2 separate regions of the Homo sapiens genome follow, and region 1 is linked to region 2. The links are contacts of gene promoters, found by promoter capture Hi-C in blood cells and fetal thymus (Javierre and others, 2016). All regions are on one chromosome and are shown on one strand. Each heading gives the region's core, a stretch centred on a gene start or on the middle of the fragment in contact. The rest is flanking DNA. Distances are from core to core; before and after follow the strand shown.

What was found. The method cuts DNA at HindIII sites, captures the fragments that hold promoters and counts their contacts. A CHiCAGO score of 5 or more calls a contact.
Region 1: a contact is called between a fragment that was not itself captured here and the fragment with the promoter of JADE2 in region 2, in 1 of 17 cell types (total CD8 T cells). The highest score is 6.3, in total CD8 T cells.

Annotation. Positions count from the first base shown.
Region 1 is chr5:133,965,824-133,970,242 of GRCh38, reverse strand. C5orf15 (chromosome 5 open reading frame 15) reads left to right here and starts at 1,618. Exons shown (of 3, transcript NM_020199.3): 1 at 1,618-1,797. The coding sequence starts at 1,659. LOC105379183 (a long non-coding RNA gene) reads right to left here and starts at 1,554. Exons shown (of 2, transcript NR_134247.1): 1 at 1,451-1,554; 2 at 20-492. RefSeq lists enhancers at 1,475-1,694, 2,325-2,424. The HindIII fragment of the contact is 3,928 bases long and covers 678-4,419 here.
Region 2 is chr5:134,522,747-134,527,131 of GRCh38, reverse strand. It overlaps JADE2 (jade family PHD finger 2), which reads right to left and starts at 1,462. Exons shown (of 12, transcript NM_001388185.1): 1 at 1,121-1,462. LOC124901070 (a long non-coding RNA gene) reads left to right here and starts at 1,530. Exons shown (of 3, transcript XR_007058942.1): 1 at 1,530-1,666; 2 at 2,049-2,226; 3 at 3,088-4,385. RefSeq lists silencers at 1-992, 1,003-1,262, 1,293-1,372, 1,503-1,722, 1,743-1,792 and 1 more. The HindIII fragment of the contact is 6,085 bases long and covers 1-3,914 here.

The sequences.
Region 1 (4,419 bases), core at 1,392-3,891, 560 kb after region 2:
GGACAAAGTGGACAATGAGTCAGGGAAGAGGACTGCAGTGTGTTTATTATAGATTAACTTTAAAGTCAACAAGCAGAAACTAAGATTGAGAAGCTCATTTGTTGAACTGAGTGGTTTTACAGAAAACTTAAGTACCGCTCAGAGAAGGGAAGCTCCTGGGGGACTGGGAGGACTTTGCACCTTGGCTAAAGTGGAGAGTTTGCAATAAGGACACCATTCAGTCTAATACGGGCTTCTGGGGGATTTCGGGAAATGTGCAGATGAATGACTTCTTAGTTTTCTTAACACAGAGTTTGTGTGTTTCTGAGCTGTCACCAGGGTGAGATAAAAGCTTAGGGGAAACCAGATTCAGGAGTAGAACACAGGCCCTTTAGAGAGACAGCTCAGCTGTGTCTCTGGGGGATAACAGCAATCTTCGCAGGGAATCATAGAGACCAGAATGGTGAAGCTGTGGGCACAATAAATGTCTTGCTTAACGTCACATTGATTTTCCTGAAATTGATCAAATGGAACTTTTATGAATTGAAGCCTGTATCTGTTTATTAAGGAGACATTTACAGAACGTACACACAGAGCAAAGTATGGCGCCAGGGCCCTAGGTGAACTTCTTGGAAGTTTGTAAGTTTGCATTTTTATACACTGGGGATTTCAAGTAACAAAATTTAAAAAGAGAAGCTTATTTTAGGAAATCTGAAAGTTATTTTCAATGGCAGCCCCTCACCTCTACTTCCTAGCTACCTTCCTTTCTTTTCCTCCATAATTTTTTTTTTTTTTTTGAGACGGAGTCTGTGGCCCAGGCTAGAGTGCAGTGGCATCTCGGCTCCCTGCAGCCTCCACCTCCCGGGTTACAGCGATTCTCCTACCTCAGCCTCCCGAGTAGCTGCGATTACAGGCACGCGCCACCACGCCTGGCTAATTTTTGTATTTTTAGTAGAGTCGGGGTTTCTCCATGTTGGCCAGGCTGGTCTCCAACTCCGGACCTCAGGTGATCTGCCCTCCTCGGCCTCCCAAAGTGCTGGGAGCCACTGCACTAGGGCCGGTCCATAATATCTTTATCATCTTGTATAGTGTGTATTTTACACCATATTCGCCCTCACAAGAAAATAAACTGCCAAGGCGGGCGGGGGGGTGGGGGGTTCTTTTTGTTCACTGCTGTATCTTAAATAGGGAGAGGTGCTAAATCTTTGTTGAAAAAAAATAAATGACTGTCGGGAAAGATTTTTAAAAATTACTTATAATCCCATCACCGAAATAGGACTACTTAACATTTGTGTTTCTTTCGCCTTTGAGAGAGGAAGAGCAGTTACTTCGCTTTCGTGATCAGTCTGTTCTACAGCTGGATCTTCCTTTTTAAAATGGCTAAAAACGCTATTTTTGGCTGTATAGTACCCAATCATGCAGGCGGCAGGGAGGGGCTCGCTTTGGCCCTCTTCAGCACGTCACACCCTACCTTTAATCCGCAGCCAACTGTGTGGCGGTCCCCACTTTCGCCTAGCGGCAACTCCCTCCTCCCTGCAATCCTTCCTTCTTATTCCGGTTTCCAGAGCACGTCTCCAGGCTTCGACGTCACCACGCTGGGACGTATGTGCCGAGGGCCGCGGCGTCTGACCTCATGGCGTAGAGCCTAGCAACAGCGCAGGCTCCCAGCCGAGTCCGTTATGGCCGCTGCCGTCCCGAAGAGGATGAGGGGGCCAGCACAAGCGAAACTGCTGCCCGGGTCGGCCATCCAAGCCCTTGTGGGGTTGGCGCGGCCGCTGGTCTTGGCGCTCCTGCTTGTGTCCGCCGCTCTATCCAGTGGTAAAGGGGGGCGGCAGTGTGGGCTTAGGAAGGCTAGGAGGGCTCGGGCGCAGGGCAGGAGACAGGCCGGGCCAGGGAAAGGGCGCTTCCAAGTGTCAGGAGCAGACGGCGGTGTCTGGTTGGGTCAGGGTCTCCGCGGGCCTGAGGACGGAGGGTATGGTGTCTGAAGGGGTCCAAGGTGGTAGGGTCTCCAAGGGGCCTGAGAAGCGGGGTCCCTGAGAGATGCAGGAACCCAGGGAGCAGGCAGCAGGGTGTGTAGATGGGCGGGGAGGGAGGAGTGGTGTTAGCGCCTAGAGATCGTTGAAGAATGGGCTGCCGCAAGGAATGGCGGTGGTGGGGTCTCCAAAATTTCTTGGATCGGAAAGTTAGGAGACTCTGGAAGAGAGGGTGGCGACAGGGGCTGAGGAGGTGGCCGGGGCTGGGGGTGTGGTGTCTGGAAAGGGTCCTGAGTTTGGGGGACTCAGGAATCTTGCAGGACCAAGGAAAGGTGGGGGTTTTCCAGAATGGGAGAGGTCAGTGGTAAAGACCGAGGCGGGCAGGGGCAGTAATCCAGTGACTGGACTGAACCAATGGAATATTTCCGAGAGGGAAAGTGAAAGGGAAAGAGCTGTCTTAGGGTACTGGTGCATATTTGAAGACTGGGAGGTTCTGGTGTTTGATAAAGATTCAGAGTACTGGGGCGTTGGGCCCCTGAAGGCTTGGGAGGCAGAGAGGAGTTTGGAGACAAGGGAGATCATGATTCCTCTTCCCTGTGTTCCGAGTTAACCAGGATAACCCTGCCTCGTTTTAATGCATCTGTAGGATTTGATTGATAAAATATTTCATTTCTTGCAAATGTTGCATGGTGAAATCAAGAGATTGAAGGCTTTTATTGAGAAATTAGGAAATCTGTAAACCAGTGCCTGATACTTGGTGGGAAAAATCCACTATTAAGAACTTGTAAGGATTAAACGGTATTTTGTTTAGTAGTCCCATTTTTCTTTCAGGCCAAGACACAGTCCTGCGTTTCTCCCTAAATTTGAATTTTCAGCTGCAAAACAGTGTGACCTGGTATAGTGTTTTCTTTCTTGCCAGCAGGGCCTGTCCAGCCCTACATTCCTCTGCGACAGTACTGTGGGTACATACTTATGTTTCCTCAGCAACATTTCAGTGTTGCTAACTGGACGCCCTCCCAGAAGTCTTTGCAGTCCCTGAGGAAGGACTGCTGTCCATTTCCTAAGGCCCTTTTATCATTAGTGAAATGTAATGAGGATTTCCCTGGTTGATGCAGATATTCCCGTTCCTAAAGTACTTAAGTAGCTTAATTGTTTTGGCCATTTAATCATCTAAGAAAAATAAAACACAAACATTTATATTTCCTGCTGGAATGCTTAAGGGATATATATCTGGCAACTGTAGTTTCAGAAACAGCTTTTTTCCCCTAAGAGATGGTTGAAAATTGGGCAAGAAGTGAGGCAGAATGTGGACTGTTAAGTGTCCTTTAGTCTCTGCTTTTATTTGTTAGAGCCCTATAAATATTTTTCTAACTATACTGAGACATTTTAGAGAATCTTTATCTTTTAAATTAAGTCTTTACATACACCAGTTTAAAATGTCATAAATTCAGATTATTCTGTCCTGAAAAGAAGCTAAATGAAAACGAACATACATGTCTTTAATAGGCGAGCAGCTCCACTGCACTACAGTGTAGCTTGGGATATAAGTATTTTTTGTAAGCATACCTTATAATTTCAAAGTAGTCACTCCTGTAATAAGAAAATTAGTCTAGAATGTGTTGAGTTCCAAATTTCAAGTGAGTTTACAAAGGTAGAAGGTTACCACATTAGATTTATTTAAATTTGTTCCATATTAGGTTTTAAAAACTGTCAATGCTTGGTTATATGCTCGTCAGTCTGTAAGAATTTTTGTTTTATGTTTTTGTTTTGATCAAGTCTAAAAAATTAACATAAGCAGTTTGGATCACTGGGTGACTAATTCTTGGTCATGCCATTTCAAAAATGCCTGGTTCTCTACATTTGCCATTATATTGTCCCCAAATGATCACCTAAACTTAATGTATAATGCATTTCATTTTTAAGGCATTGTTTCTCAAACCAGTGTGTGAATGAGTTCTCGGGGTCCTCTGCATTCTTAAGTTTAAGAAATGCTGATATAGTTTTATTTTAGGGCAGTTTTTAAAAAGGGACCAGTAGAAGGGGAGAATTAAATTTATAAAGTTTTGTTTTTTGTTTTTTTTTTGAGTCTGTCGCGAGGCTGGAGTGCAGTGGCGTGATCTCGGCTCATTGCAACCTCCGCCTCCCGGTTTCAAGTGATTCTTCTGCCTCAGCCTCCCGAGTATGCTGGGACTACAGGCGCGCACCACACCTGGCTAGTTTTTGTATTTTTAGTAGAGACGGGGTTTCACCGTGTTATCCAGGATGGTCTCAATCTCCTGACCTCGTGATCCGCCCGCCTTGGCCTCCCAAAGTGCTGGGATTACAGGCCTGAGCCACTGTGCCCAGCCTTTTTTGTTTGTTTGTTTGAGACAGGGTTTTGCTCTGTCGCCCAGGCTGGAGTGCAGTAGCACAAACTTGGCCCATTGCAACTTCCGCCTCCTGGGCTCAAGCAGTCCTCCCACTTCAG
Region 2 (4,385 bases), core at 213-2,712:
AGCGCTAGGTGGGGGCGGGGGCTGCAATGTCACTCATTTGAGAGTCAGGTGTGTGCGTCCCAAACGGGGTCCGCCACAAGCCGGCATCTTCCTGGTACCACCCATGGTGCAGGGCCCTAGGCAGAGGGCTGGGGACTGCGGATCCGTCCCTGAAGCGGGACGCGAACCGGCAGAGTTGGGAGAAGGTAAACAAGGGCCACGCCCCCTGCCGTCGCCCCGCGGGCGCGCACCCGCCGCTCCGGCCGCCGCCGGTACATTTCCACTCTCCCAGCGCCTCTCCCCAGCTGGACTACCGCGCGGCCCCGGAGGTGGAGGCTGCCCCCGACCCCAGTCCTCACCCCTGGCGCCGAGGCTCCGCACCCTCCACACTCACCTGGAAAGGGTGTCCCCCGCCCCTCCAAAAAAACTGTCTAATTTGTGCAGAGCCTCCAACCCCAGGAGCCGAGCATGCTGCCCCCGCGTGCAGCGCCCGCGTGCACCGGGCCGGGAGAGGGGGCGACAGGGCGGAGGCGGTGGCCCCCGGAAGGTGTCTGGGACCGGACCGGCTGCACGTGAGCCCAGCGCGAGGTCATGTGCACCGGCTCAGCCCGGTTCGGCGCCCGGACGTGCTGCGTATCAACAAAATGAAACTCGGGGAGACAGGAGGGCAGATAGCTCCAGGTTCTCGGAGCCCCCGCCCGGGCCGCTCGACCTCCCCACCGTACCCATCTCCCGCCGCAGCCCCTACGCCCGGCCGGAGCCCGCGGGGAAGTTGCAGCCCTGGCGCGCCCCCGCCCGCCCGCGCCCCCTCGCCGGCCCGGGGGCGCTTTGCCGCAGTCATTAATAAAGAAGGTCGCCAAGCTCACCCTTCCAAAAGTTGTTGTTGCATGCGCCCCTCTCAGCCTCCCCGCACTGTACTCTTTAAAACACGACTGACCAACATGCGCAATCTCTCTCCCCTGTGCTGTGCATCCCCCCCCTCTCCGCGCTGGCTTCCTAGAACAGGCAGCCAGCAGGAGAGAGAGGGAGCGAGCGAGCAAGAGAGAGCGAGGGAGCGAAGAGCGCTGGCAGATCTGTTGCAAAAACGCCAAATAACGTCGTGGAGATGCGCAGGGCCCATCCGCCGGGGGCTGGATCTTACCTTGCTCCGCGGTGCCCCCCTGACGGGCGCTGCCCTCGGCTACGCGCCGCTGCAGGGACCGGCGCGGGAAGGATGCTCCCGAAGCCGGGAGCTCCTGGGGCCGGCGCGGGAGGGCGGGGGGCGCGCATCCATCCGGGGTCGCGGCGAGGGAGGCGGCCGGGCCCGCGGCGTCCCAGGCCCCACGCCCCCCGCCGGGGACGGTCGGCCCGCAGGACCTAAGCCGGTGCCGCTAGGAGTGGGCGCAAAGTAACTCCATGGACGCTACTCACCCCCCCCAAAAAATAGCCTCCAACTGCGATGGCCGCGGTCGGCACCATTCACCAACCCCCTGTGTATGTTTCTGTTTCTTTTTAAACCAAGACTTCCTTGTGATCTCTTTAGAAAAAAAAAATGTGTTGGGGTGGGGGTGGGGTGGGGGCGGGCAGGAGGAGCGAGGGAGGGGGAGTAGCCACTTTTTTCTTATTCACTCGGATCTCCGCTCCCGACACCCCCGTCGCCGCCCCCCCAACCCCCCGCCCAGTTGTTTGGCTCCGGCGGGGAGTCCAGGTAGCGTTGCGGGCCCCGTGGGGGAAGGGTGCCCTCCCTCGCAGCCCCACCACCACGCCTGCTGGCACCCTGGGCCCGGACTCCCCATGGACTCTGGGGCGCCCCTAGCCCGCCCTGTCCCCAGGGCCGGGCCCGAGCGGCGGCTGCGCCCGTGCAAGTCCCATCAGGTCTGCTCACACTTCACACACTCACACACATACCCCGCCCCTCCACTCTTTCACTCACACTTTCTGCTCACACCCCGCCCCCTACGCGCCCCAGACCCGGGCGGCGCCCCCCGCAACCTTAAAAAAAAAAAAAAGCGAGCTTATACTTAAAAAAATCTTTTGGCGCCATATTAATGACGTACTTAAAATTTGCCATTTCTCCCTGCGTCAAAAAGACGTTTCTTTGCAAATAACAGCCTGGAGGCGACACTCGCGGAGGGAACGAGGTTTGCACTGAGCACCCCGCCCCCCGGGGCTCCAGCGCTGGAAGACCCTCGCCCTAGGCCCTGCTTCTGAATCGCTGGTTTTAAAATGCGAATCGAATAAATTGCGTGGCGTTTTGCAGCACCAGAAGTGAGCAGAAAGTGCTGGCAGGAGGGGAGTGGAGGGGCGAACGCGAGTCTTGGGGAGGGGGCGCGGCCCTCCTCCCCGCACCCACTCCAAATGGAAAACTAACATTCCGGGCGGGGGAACTTGAAATTGTAGGCGACCTCAAGAAAAGAGGGGCGGTCCGTAGAGAGGGTCCCCATTGGGCTCGTCGCCCCCTCCCCCCTCCCGGGTGCCTCCTGGCGCCTAGCGCTGCCCCGCATTTCCGGGGGGTGGAGAAGGCAGTGATGAGCGGGTGGGTGGGTGGTTGCACATCCTGGCCCCAGCAGGATTTTGCCCCGGGGCGACCCCTTCCTCCTTGCTCTTCCTTCCCATTACCCCGAAAGGGTTAAAAACCGAGGGGTAACTTCCAAAGGCTGGCACATGGCGAGGAAGCGGGGCGCCCCTCTCCCCACCCTTCGCCTCCTCGCCCCTCCTCCTCCGGCTCCACTTCCCGACTTGACCTTGTGGTGCACAAACAGTACGCTCGGATCCTCGCAGTTTCTGGAAGAAGAGCCTGCGCTCGCCAGGCGGGCGGGCTGTCGGGCTGCTAGCCGGCGGTGGCGGGGCCTTGGGTCTGTTCCCGGAGCCGCGGGCCACACCCACCCAACCCGCTGCGCCCGCCGAGCTCACCTTCTCTCGAGGAAGGAGAAGGACTGGCCTCCTGGTTGGGGAGGAATCGGGGGTCAAGCTCCAACCTCCTCGGAATGCCTCTAGCTGGGGAGGGGGTGGGTCTGGCCTCGGGAGGAGGTTGTGGGGAGCCTGGCCCAACATCCCCAAAGCATCGTGGCCAACTTTTTCTTCCCCCTCATGGTCGGCTGCCCCTCAGATTATCCAATAATTTTTCAGCTCACCTTTGGCTTTGAAGGCACGTGGGTGAGTTGTGAATGGACACCGGAGTCGCCTTCCCTCTCCAAGACTGAAGATTGTTTATTCTTCCTTTCCCCTCCACCCCCTTCCATGGGAAGATAAATATTCAATTTACATAAGATGACATTTATGTGACAATTAAGAAGATTCCCCGATGGAATGTTGTGAACACATTTGCTTATAGGAGAAATAAATCTAATAATAAACAAACTCATAATAACAGCACAAATCCTCCGACAGGGCGGATTGTCTACCCAACAAAGAGGGAGATGATGAATGCTGAAATAAGCAGTTTTTGCAACAAGAAAGAAATATGAGCTCAAAGGGAGTCACTGCAACATTTCTTCTTCCTTGGCCTTCATTCACAAAGTCTGAGGAGAATTGTCTGGCAAGAGGATGGTCTGGGTATTACCTTCCAGTTAGACCTGGCTGTGGCTCTCAGTGGTCAATTGGTGGTATTTTTCTCTAGCCAAGCTCAGAGTCTGGAAACAGGTGCTGCAGACTTGGAGTGTGTAACAAAATAGTTAAATACTTAGGTTCTAATCCTGGCTTTGCATTTCAGAAGCTGTGTGATGTGGGCAAGTGAATTCATCTCCCTGGATCGCTTTTTCCTTTTGGGTAGAATGGGGTGGTTGGAGGGTTCTTGAGGCCATGTGTGCACATACACATATATGTATGTACGTACATATACAGGTGGTATGTGTAAAGCAGCAACTGGCACAGGGTGCATAGTGCTCATTAGCACCTTGCCTGGTACCTAAGTGGGTTTTTTTTATTTTGGAAGGGTGAAATTGTTCTCTGAAGCTTGATGGTCAAGGTCCAGATGTCCATTCCGGGGTGGGAGTGAGGGTACCAGTTTACAGTGGCACAGTCTAAAGAGATGACCTCCAGAGATGGATGAGGGAAGTGTGACCATTTAAAGTGCACCTGCAGTGTACTGGTCACTTTGTGAGCCATTCTATCTCATCCTCCCCCAAACCCCTTCCTCCCTTTTCAGAAAGGTTTAGTAACTTACCACAGCCACACAGCTAGTAAGTGCTGGCAGAATTGGCTCCTAGGTCTAGCTGACCTTGAGACCTATGTAGTTTCTATTTTACCACACTGCCAGAAATAAAAAGTATTACTATTATTGGTTTGATTGGGGATGGGGGGATCTGATTGCTGTCTTGGCAAGAAAGAATTTTATGAGCAGCACTTTGCTTCTGAGGTGGTTCCCTGACTTGGGGTGAGACCCAGGCCTTCTAATGAGCCCTTGAAAATACCTCTTGCTTAGGACT